Regions from separate parts of the Homo sapiens genome. Here region 1 is linked to region 2. Evidence: promoter capture Hi-C in human tissues and cell types (Jung and others, 2019). All regions are on one chromosome and are shown on one strand. Each heading gives the region's core, a stretch centred on a gene start or on the middle of the fragment in contact. The rest is flanking DNA. Distances are from core to core; before and after follow the strand shown.

Region 1 (4,810 bases), core at 345-2,844, 500 kb before region 2:
TTTAGTTCTGGTGCCCAAAATCTTTGGTAGATGGAGGGAACTGGGGATTCAGAAGATGTGGTAAAGGTCTATTTCTGTAGTGTGGCAGAGATGTGTTTTTCTAAAGTGTTTGCAGGGCATTTTTCCCTCTTACCTCAGATTAAGTTATTTATATATTGTTGATTGAAGGTTTTTTAAAATTGCTTTTAAACTTCTATTTCTCGGGTAAATTTTTTGGTGACATGATATATTTAACACCCTATTTATATACTCCTACCTCTTTTCATATAAATCTCTTACTAAGACTACTGACCAAAAAAGAACATTTTAAAATTAAAAGTCCTCTGTGTACTTTATCTAGTGAAGAGTAGATGAAATCCTGCACCGGGATAGCCTAAGTGTGTGATTCGAGCTTGGCAGATTAGCTGGAGATCACCCTGGCAATACCCACTCATAGCTGTTTCAAAGATTCAGTTTACATGTATGTACAGTTTCCCATGAACTTGGCATTGCTTTGCAGGGTAAACAGCAACCAGGTAAGTTGCTCAACTATAGCCCAAGTAAGAACTAAAGGGGAGAATCCAGAACAGTCACTGCCACACCTAACAGTGACCACAGTGCCCTGGGGCTTCTGAGGCAGAGCCACCTATGGGAATCTGAGTCAGGGGATAACCAGGAGGTGACCCTGCCCGCCTTAATAGAGAAGCCAGCCGGGCATGGTGGCTCATGCCTGTCATCCCAGCACGTTGGGAGGCTGAGGCGGGTGGATCACCTGAGGTCAGGAGTTTGAGACCAGCCTGGCCAACATGGTGAAACCTGTCTCTACTAAAAATACAAAAAATTAGCCAGGCGTGGTGGCATGTGCCTGTAATCCCAGCTACTTGGGAGGCTGAGGCACAAGAATTGCTTGAACCTGGGAGGGGGAGGTTTCAGTGAGCCGAGCCGAGATTGTGTCACTGCACTCCAGCCTGGGCAACAGAGTGAGACTCTGTCTCAAAAAAAAAAAAAAAAAAAAGCAACACCAGACCTGACTGAATCAGCAAGCGAAAGATTGAGAGGGATCTTGTAGCAAAAAGCAAAAGTGGAGTCAGATTTTGGATTCATGGCGTGGTTGTCATACTTTCGCATACATCAGAATCACCTGAACGCTTTCTTATGCCCCAGGATGGGCCCTACCCCAAGTTACTGGTTTGGTAGCCCCGGAGAAGGACCAGAGAATTTGTGTTAACAAGAAGTCCCAGGGGACCCTGAAGTTTGCTGGTCTGGGGACCACATTTTATAAACAGCTGGCTTTGACAATTAGAGAGCAGACATACAGAATCTAGTTCACTGACCCACTAGCTGCCTGTCTCCATAATCCTTAGAGTAGCCTTTAAGGCTCACACAGGCCAGCAGGAAGTTTCCTTCATCGGGAACATGTTAAATTTCCATTCAGATTCCCAAGAACTTGTTTTTAACTCAGTGGGCCTTAAGCCAGGCCTGGGTTATGGCCCAGCCCTTCAGTCTCAGCATCCTTAGGGGTTTCAGGTTTTCCTCTCCTGCCCATTCCATGTCACACACCTCAGCTGGGTCCTCTGGAACAAGTCAAGGAGTAGCCACAAGCCTGACGCTGACCCTAAGCTTCCTGGGTGGGGGCGGTGCTATGGTTTAATCACACCCAGTGCTGGTCTCTGGGCATAGAAAGCTTTTTTTTTTTTTTTGAGACAGACAGGGTATCGCTCTGTAGCCCAGGCTGGACTGCAGTGGTGTGATCATGGCTCACTGTAGCCTTGACCTCCTGGGCTCAAGTGATCCTCTGACCTCAGCCTCCCAAGTAGCTATGACCACAGGCATGGACCACCACTCCTCACCAATTTTGTATTTTTTAAAGATGAGGCTTCCCCATGTTGCCCCGGCTGGTTCAAACTCCTGAGCACAAGTGATCCTCCCGCCTTGACCTCCCAAAGTGCTGGGATTACAGGTGTGAGCCACTGTGTCCGGCCGAGAAAGCATTCCTTAAAGCTTTTTTGGTTCCCAGGCATTCAGAACAAATTGGATTTAAAGGATAAAGATAAAGGCCTTTGAAAATGAAGAGATCAGGGGAAAATGGTTCAGATATAGAAACTTGTTAAAGGAGTAGCTGAGCTGAGGAGAAGGGAAAGGCATGGTGTTTGGGAGAAGTATGATCACAAGGTGGTGACTGAGGAAAACTCCCATTTTTTACTTTCTAGGTTGATGGGATTTCCTGGCTCTACCATGGTCACACAAGTGGACCCCTTTAGGTCCTCCTGAGGATTATATTATCAGTCCAACTCCTGGTTATTAATGCACATGATCACAGTAGTGCTTTTTTTTTTTCCCCTCAAAGAGATGGGGGTCTCACTCTTGCTCAGGCTGGAGTGCAGTGGCACAATCATAGTTCACTGTAACCTCTAACTCCTGGACTCAAGTAGTCCTCTCTCTCGGCTTCCCAAAGCACTGGGATTACAGGTGTGAACCTGTCAAAATCAGTGGCTCATTTATAGAGCTTGATACAGCTGTAATCGAGAAGCAATGCTTTTGCTCTGAGAAACTCCAAGCCAAATCAATCAAACAAACACCTTAGCCTTAACAAGCTTAACAAGAACACTGCCCCACCATGTGGTTCAGTAGGGAATATCTTGTGTGTGGAAACTACATTATCCTAACCCTTTCTCCCACAAATAAAGCGAGTTACACAGGAGAAGTCAGTACCACTGGCGATAAATTAAATTAATAGATATTGCCACCAGAGACTAGCCCTCTAGAGTGGAATATACAGGCATTTCTAAGAGCCAAGGTAGCTCACCTTGTAATGCACAGAGCAAAGCCACAATTACAGCGCTCCACCTACAGCCCACCCGAGACTGCAGCCTTCTAAAGGGAGAAGACAGGTGACAATGATTAGACATCAAGCCCTTGTTAAAGAAAACCAGTTTATTCTAAAAAGCTCTAAATGCCCTGTGCTTGGTCCCTGGTCAGGGAGAGGTCTCAAGAGGTTACTACCTGCACAGGGGCTGAAGGTACAGGGGGAAAGTCAGGTTTCAGTTGGTTGAGTCCTACCTTATCTGTTTGTTAGGCTTTTTCTAGAAAGTCTCGCTCTGTTACCCAGACTGGAGTGCAGTGGTGCGACCTCGGCTCACTGCAACCTCCACCTCCAGGTTCAAGCAGGTCTCCTGCCTCATCCTCCTGAGTAGCTGGGATTACAGGCACACACCACCATGCCCAGCTAATAATTTTTTTATTTTTAGTAGAGATGGGGTTTTGCCATGTTGGCCAGGCTGGTCTTGAATTCCTGACCTCAGGCAGTCCGCCGACCTCAGGCCTCTCAAAGTGCTGGGATTACAGGCATGAGCCACCAGACCCGGCCTGTGTTAGGCATTTATAAGGAGATGGCAGTCCAGCTCCTGGTGATAAGAAAATGTAGACTCCCAAGATTCATGTTTTAACTTTCTTCATAAGTTAAGCAGGAGTCATTTGCCTCTGTCATGAATTCCAAGACTACAAAGTTTTAAGAGATGCTGGGATAGCAAATGAGGCTTGAATTCTGTGTTGACAAGCCCACACACCTCATTTCATTTAGTATCCAAGAGATAAACAAACACCACCTCTTCTACTCCAGGACTGGCATCTCTGGACTTTTCTGCCATAATCCCAAATCAGGCCAACTCTCCTTCCTCTAGGATTCGCGTGGTGGGATGCCAGGCAGTGACACCCTTAGAGCAGGAAGTCTGACTGTAGACCCAGCTACACCCCAACCAGTGAGGGTCTGCATTGGGCACTTGGGCCTCCTCGTGAGGCGGGGGTCCAGGGTTCTGGTGCAATGCCCAAGGCAGGGCCACTTCTCAGCCCTAGCTCTGGGCCAGCACAGTGCCCCGGTTTGGCTGCACCAACTCACAGGCTCTTAGCTGGGGTTCTGGCAGGTGGGGCTCGGCTAGAAACAGATTAGACAGTGTTGCTAATTCTTCAGCAAAGTCCTGGAATACATAGAAAGATGAGGGAAAAGGCAGCATGTAATAATTCTCAATGGCTCATCCTTTGTCACTAAAGACCACAACCTGGCTGGCTATATTATTTTTTCTCAACTGCCCTCCACACTGAAATGGACATGAAACCTTGTCTGTTTGTTAGTACTCTGGGAGGCTGAAGTTATGGCAGGGAGCGAACTCTGATGGAGGCACAGGCTTGACCAGTTTTTGAGTACTACTGAGTGCATCTACTTCATCTTGAAATTATTATTCCCGTTAAAATCCAGGTTATTCTAATTTTAAAAACCCATATAATGGGCTGTGCTGCTTTCCAACTAACTGCCTGCCTTTCGTCCGTCTTCCCACTAACACAGTCCCTCATATAATAACTACTCAAATCGGGACAATTTCAGGGTGGCCCTGAAGACTCTTGACAAAAATCCACTTAGTTTGGCCCCATCACTTGCTTCCTTTCAGGACAGATGGGATATGTAACACCTGTTCTCTCTCCACCTAAAAGACAGGAGACTCCTTACCCCTGGCCACTGGGCCTGGTGGAGGCTGCCCAGGCAGGCCTCTATCTCCATCCGTCCCATCAGACCCTTCTCCACCAGCTCCCGTAGCAAGAATAGCAGCAAGTCCCACTGCAAAACACACCGAGGTCAGGGTTGCTAGGAGGACGACAGAGTGACCCTGATGACAGAGATTGAGATCTCAAAGGGCAGAGCTGCTGGGAAGAGACTTGAGATGGATAAATGGAGCCCATTTCTGTGTGGAACAGGAAGGGGAAATAAAGGATGCAGAGCAGCTCATAGTTTGGGGCAAGGGTGGTGGATGTTCAGAGTGTGACTGCAGAGGGCTTCTTG
Region 2 (4,923 bases), core at 452-2,951:
ATTATCTTTCTTTTTAATATAAATTTTTTACTTGTAAGTTTATACAATTTAATTTTTAATAATGCCTGTGTTTAAGAACTGGTTCACAAGGTTCCTCAAAATTTAGCAATTGGCTCTTGCAAGTCAGCACAAGCCAGCTCCAGCCACTGCAGCATGTCATGAGTTCATACTCAGTGATTCTCATCTGGTGGCTACTGGGCCCTCTGCCACCCACTGCCTGGAAAGAATTTAGTGCCCAGGGGCATCCTCTGGTTTGGGACTAGACTAAACAATCTCCTGATATCTTTGTGTTTCTCTGATTGAGTAGATTTTAATTTGTCTGGTCTCTACAGAATAAAAAGAACGATTTGGCCAGGCGCAGTGGCTCACGCCTGTAATCCCAGAACTTTGGGAGGCCGAGGCGGAGGATCACGAGGTCAAGAGATCGAGACCATCCTGGCCAACAAGGTGAAACTCCGTCTCTACTAAAAATACAAAAAATTAGCCGGGCATGGTGGTGGGTGCCTGTAGTCCCAGCTACTCAGAAGGCTGAGGCAGGAGAATCACTTGAACCCAGGAGGCGGAGGTTGCAGTGAGCCGAGATTGCGCCACTGAACTCTAGCCTGGTGACAGAGAGAGACTCCGTTTAAAAAAAAAAAAAAAAAGGACAATTTATTGGTGTCTGCCCTATTTTCACAAGACGTGGCTGAGATTATTGACTTAATTCACCCAGAGTTCTTTTTCTTCCCTTCTCAGCTGTTGGTCTCAGCGTCAGTTGCCCTCCGCACACCAGACCAACCAGGGCAGGGGAGTGAGGCAGTTTCTATAGCAACAGAACCACAGCTGCACCCCACTGTCCCCACACCTCTGCACCATTTCCCTCTGCCTACCCGCTTGCTTCTCCCAGGACACAAAACAGCCAGGCAATTCCCAGGCCAGGATATAATAATTCCTGCCAAGAGTGCTGCGACTCTGACCACCTGTGTTGGTTTCTTGCTTTGTGTCTGCCTCTGCCCCTTTTAGGTGGATTCCCTGACTCCCTCCTCTCCTTCTCTCCCATTTGGTGTAGAAGCTGTGACACCTTCATGCTACCCAGGGTGTCTCTCATTTGTATCAGTAAGCTGTGAACACTTATGCTATGATGACCTTGGGATAAGAATATAAATCCATGTTAACCACCATCACCATCTCACCATCATACAACTATCATGACCAGTTTACCCCAACATGCTACCCCATAACCACCCCACAGCAACATCACCATCACCTCCGCCTCCGCCTCCACCAGCACCCATCATCACACCACGCTCCACAGCCAGCTCACTATCACCTCTACCAGCACCCACCTACCACACCCCCCCCCCACAGCCACCTCATTATCACCAGTACCCCCTCCCCCACCATAGTTATACCACCATCTCCCCGCCTACCATCCATCCCACTTCCTTTAATGAAAACAGGTGATGCTGCGGGGGCTGCATACAGTCCAGCAAGCCCTGTCGAGCGCTGGCTTGGCTCACCCTGTCCCATGGTTGCAGGCCGCTCCTCTTATCCACTTGGCCGCAGAAAGCGCCTCTCTCAAACTGTTGCTTCTGGGCTCCTTCTGGGCTTTCTGTCTTCCAGACAGAAAATATGAAGGCACTTTTGTTGGCTTAAGAATCTGGAAATAGCAAAACCTCCCCCCACTACTCCTGTGAGCACCCTGACATGTTTCTTCTCTCCTACTCCCTCTCTGCTGGTATCTCCTGGACCAGTTACTGGGAGTAACCCTGTTCATTTTATCTCTTGTGCCAGGAGGCCCAGGCAGGAATACGCCTGGCAGCCCTGGGGGAGGGGGTGGGATGGGGAAGACCTGCCAACTAGAGAAGCCTAGAACAAACCTTGAAGCCTCTTGCTTCAGTGGTCTCAAGAGACTCTCAGAGATGTTATCTGGACTGCACTGGAAGACTCTGGAAGAGAGGAGGCCACAAACAGGAGTCCCATATCCAACTCCAAATCTCAGGCCCTAAACGTGACAGGGGCTGCAAGTTGCAAGATGTTCATGGGCTGTTTTGATAATAGAGAGAACACGTGCATCTGCAATTTATCTGTGTGAAAAAGATAAGGAAGTAGAATTTGTTGGTGAAAAATAAATGTATTAAAAGTAGAAGCTGGGGCCCCAACTCTTCCAAGCCTACCTGGTCTGGGACCCTCTACCAGAGAAGGTTGGGAACTATCTTGGGACTCAGGCCCTATGTCTTTTCAATTTTTCTTTCTTTAGTTCCTGAAGAGACAAGAGAAGGATCTCATATTTGGCCCTACCTGGGCTTGTGAAACTGTGTTACCAGAAGCACTTTCAGGGCAGCTGTACTTGCTGCATATACATGAGACGTCTATAGAATGATATAAAACACACTGCCAAAAATATTGGTTGCCTGTGGGGAGGGGATCTGGGCAGTGGGGTAGAAAGGTTATCTTTCTGCTGTTTACTCTTTTATACTTTTAAAACTTTGAACTTTTGAACTCATTTGAAGGATCTTATTATGTAAAAAAAAAAAAAAAAAAAAAAAATGAAACTTCTGCCTTTCACTAGCGCAGTGGCTCATGCCTGTAATCCCAGCACTTTGGGAAGCCAAGTCAGGCGGATCACCTGAGGTCAGGAGTTCGAGACCAGCCTGGCCAATATGGTGAAACCCTCTCTCTACTAAAAATACAAAAATTAGCTGGGCGTGGTGGCAGGCGCCTGTACTCCCAGCTACTCAGGAGGCTAAGGCAGAAGAATTGCTTGAACCTGGGAGGCTGAGGTTGCAGTGAGCCAAGATCGTGCCACTGCACAGCCAGCATGGAGCAAGACTCCATCTCAGAAAAAAAAAAAAAAATCCTTCATAAGAAATGAAGAAGTTAATTTTTCATTATTTGAAGATGTCATTTTTTACCTGGAAAACTTGAATCTACTAACAATGATTATAAAAGGTAATTTAGTGAGCTGGCTAATACCAAAAGTATAGAAGCCAATAGTTTTCATACCTGCAATCAATAACAAGTCAGAAACTGTAATTAAAGACCCAACCTATAATAGCAACAACAACAAAAGGTGAAATTTCTAGAAATAAACTTAAGAAATGTGAAGTGCTGTCAGTAAAACACTTGGAAACGGTATGGAGGGACACCAAATAAGACTTGAGCAGATAAAAAGGAAGATCACCATCCTGTGTAGGACAACTCAACTTTATAAAGCGGTCATTTCTTCCCAAGTTGATCTTAAGTTTAATTCATTCCCAATAAAAACACCAAGATTGTTTTTTGAAACTAGGTAAACTGATTCTAAGGTTCAAAAGGAAATTTCTAAGATAATAATAAAGTGTGACCAGCCTTCCTAGATATGAACACATAATATGATATTACTGTAATTGAAAAGTCCATAGATCAAAATACATGTATTAAATGTATGCTAAATGTGGCACTTCAAATCCATGGGGAAATGAAGGATTTATCAGTAAATGATTTTGGGACAACTAGCTTGTCAAAATACAGTTGGCTTCCTATCTTATGCCACACATCAAAATAAATTTCAGATGGATCAAAACTCTTATTAAATTCTTAAAGTAATAGAAGAAAAAATGAGACACTTCTTCTTAAGTTAACTTGGGAAAACCTTTAAAAATATTATGCAAAACTCAGAAGACAAAAAGAAAATACTGAGAAATTTGATTCCTTAAAAATTTTTAAATGGAAATATTCACAATGTTAAAAGATATGCAGATGGGGCACGGTGGCTCACACCTGTAATCCCAGAACTTTGGGAGGCCGAGGCGGGTGGATCACGAGGTCAGGAGTTTGAGACCAGCCTGGCCAACTTGGTGAAACCCCATGTCTACTAAAAATACAAAAAATTAGCTGAGCGTGGTGGCATGTGCCTGTAATCCCAGCTACTTGGGAGGCTGAGGCAGGAGAATAGCTTGAACCCGGGAGGTTGGAGGTTGCGGTGAGCTGAAACTGGGCCACTGTGCTCCAGCCTGGGCCACAGAGTGAGAATCCGTCTCAAAAACAAAACAAAACAAGATATGCAACAAGTTGGGTAAAATATTTGAAACTCATATCACGAAGGATTAATCTCCTTAATATAAAAGATGCCTATAAATCAATAAGAAAAGAATAACAAACTATTAGAAAAATGAGTAAAGGATATGATAGACAATTCACAGAAAAGGAAATAAAAATGTCTATCAATTCCATGGAAAGATGTTCAGCCTCATTTAATAAAAATGCAAAATAAAAACACCCTGAGATATCATTCTTTCTTCACCTATTAGATTGGCAAAGATAAAAGAGTTTGACAACATTTTGAGTTGGTGATGTTTTAGGAAAATAGTTGCTCTCTTATAATACTAGTGGGAGTGCAAATTTAAATTGGTGCAGCCTCGGCTGGGCGCGGTGGCTCATGCCTGTAATCCCAGCACTTTGGGAGGCAGGTGAATCACTTGAGGTCAGGAGTTCGAAACCAGCCAGGCCAAGATGGTGAAAACCAATCTCTACTAAAAATACAATAATTAGCCAGACATGGTGGTGGGTGCCTGTAATCTCAGCTACTCAGGAGACTGAGACATGAAAATCGCTTGACCTGGTGGGTGGAGGTTGCAGTTAGCCAAGATCATGCCACTGTATTCCAGCCTTGACAACAGAGCAAGACATTGTCTCAAAAAAATAGAAATAAATAAATTAATTAATAAATAATTGGTGCAGCCTCTCCAAATTTGTGCAGCCTCTACGGAGAGTGTTAGTCAGACTGGGTGGCTTAAACAACAGATATTTATGTTTTCACCCTTCTGTAGGATGGAAGTTCAAGATCAGGGCCTTTAGGCTTGGTGTCTGGTGAAGGCTCTCTTCCTCACATGCCCTCTTCCCTGTGTCCACGCGGAAAGAGAAAGATCTCTGGTGTCTTTTCCTTTTCGTCTTCTTATAAGG

The links. The method cuts DNA at HindIII sites, captures the fragments that hold promoters and counts their contacts. A contact is called where the count stands out against the background at its distance.
Region 1: a contact is called between a fragment that was not itself captured here and the fragment with the promoter of EPB42 in region 2, in 1 of the 25 tissues and cell types used here (heart right ventricle).

What each region holds. Positions count from the first base shown.
Region 1 is chr15:42,720,664-42,725,473 of GRCh38, forward strand. STARD9 (StAR related lipid transfer domain containing 9) reads left to right here. Exons shown (of 33, transcript NM_020759.3): 33 at 1-335. CDAN1 (codanin 1) reads right to left here. Exons shown (of 28, transcript NM_138477.4): 27 at 4,481-4,588; 28 at 2,881-3,953. The coding sequence ends at 3,828. Among named protein-coding and RNA genes, the nearest start is that of CDAN1, 14 kb to the right of the region's middle. The HindIII fragment of the contact is 4,414 bases long and covers 1-3,801 here.
Region 2 is chr15:43,219,317-43,224,239 of GRCh38, forward strand. EPB42 (erythrocyte membrane protein band 4.2) reads right to left here and starts at 1,702. Exons shown (of 13, transcript NM_001114134.2): 1 at 1,500-1,702. The coding sequence starts at 1,509. The HindIII fragment of the contact is 9,374 bases long and covers 1-4,923 here.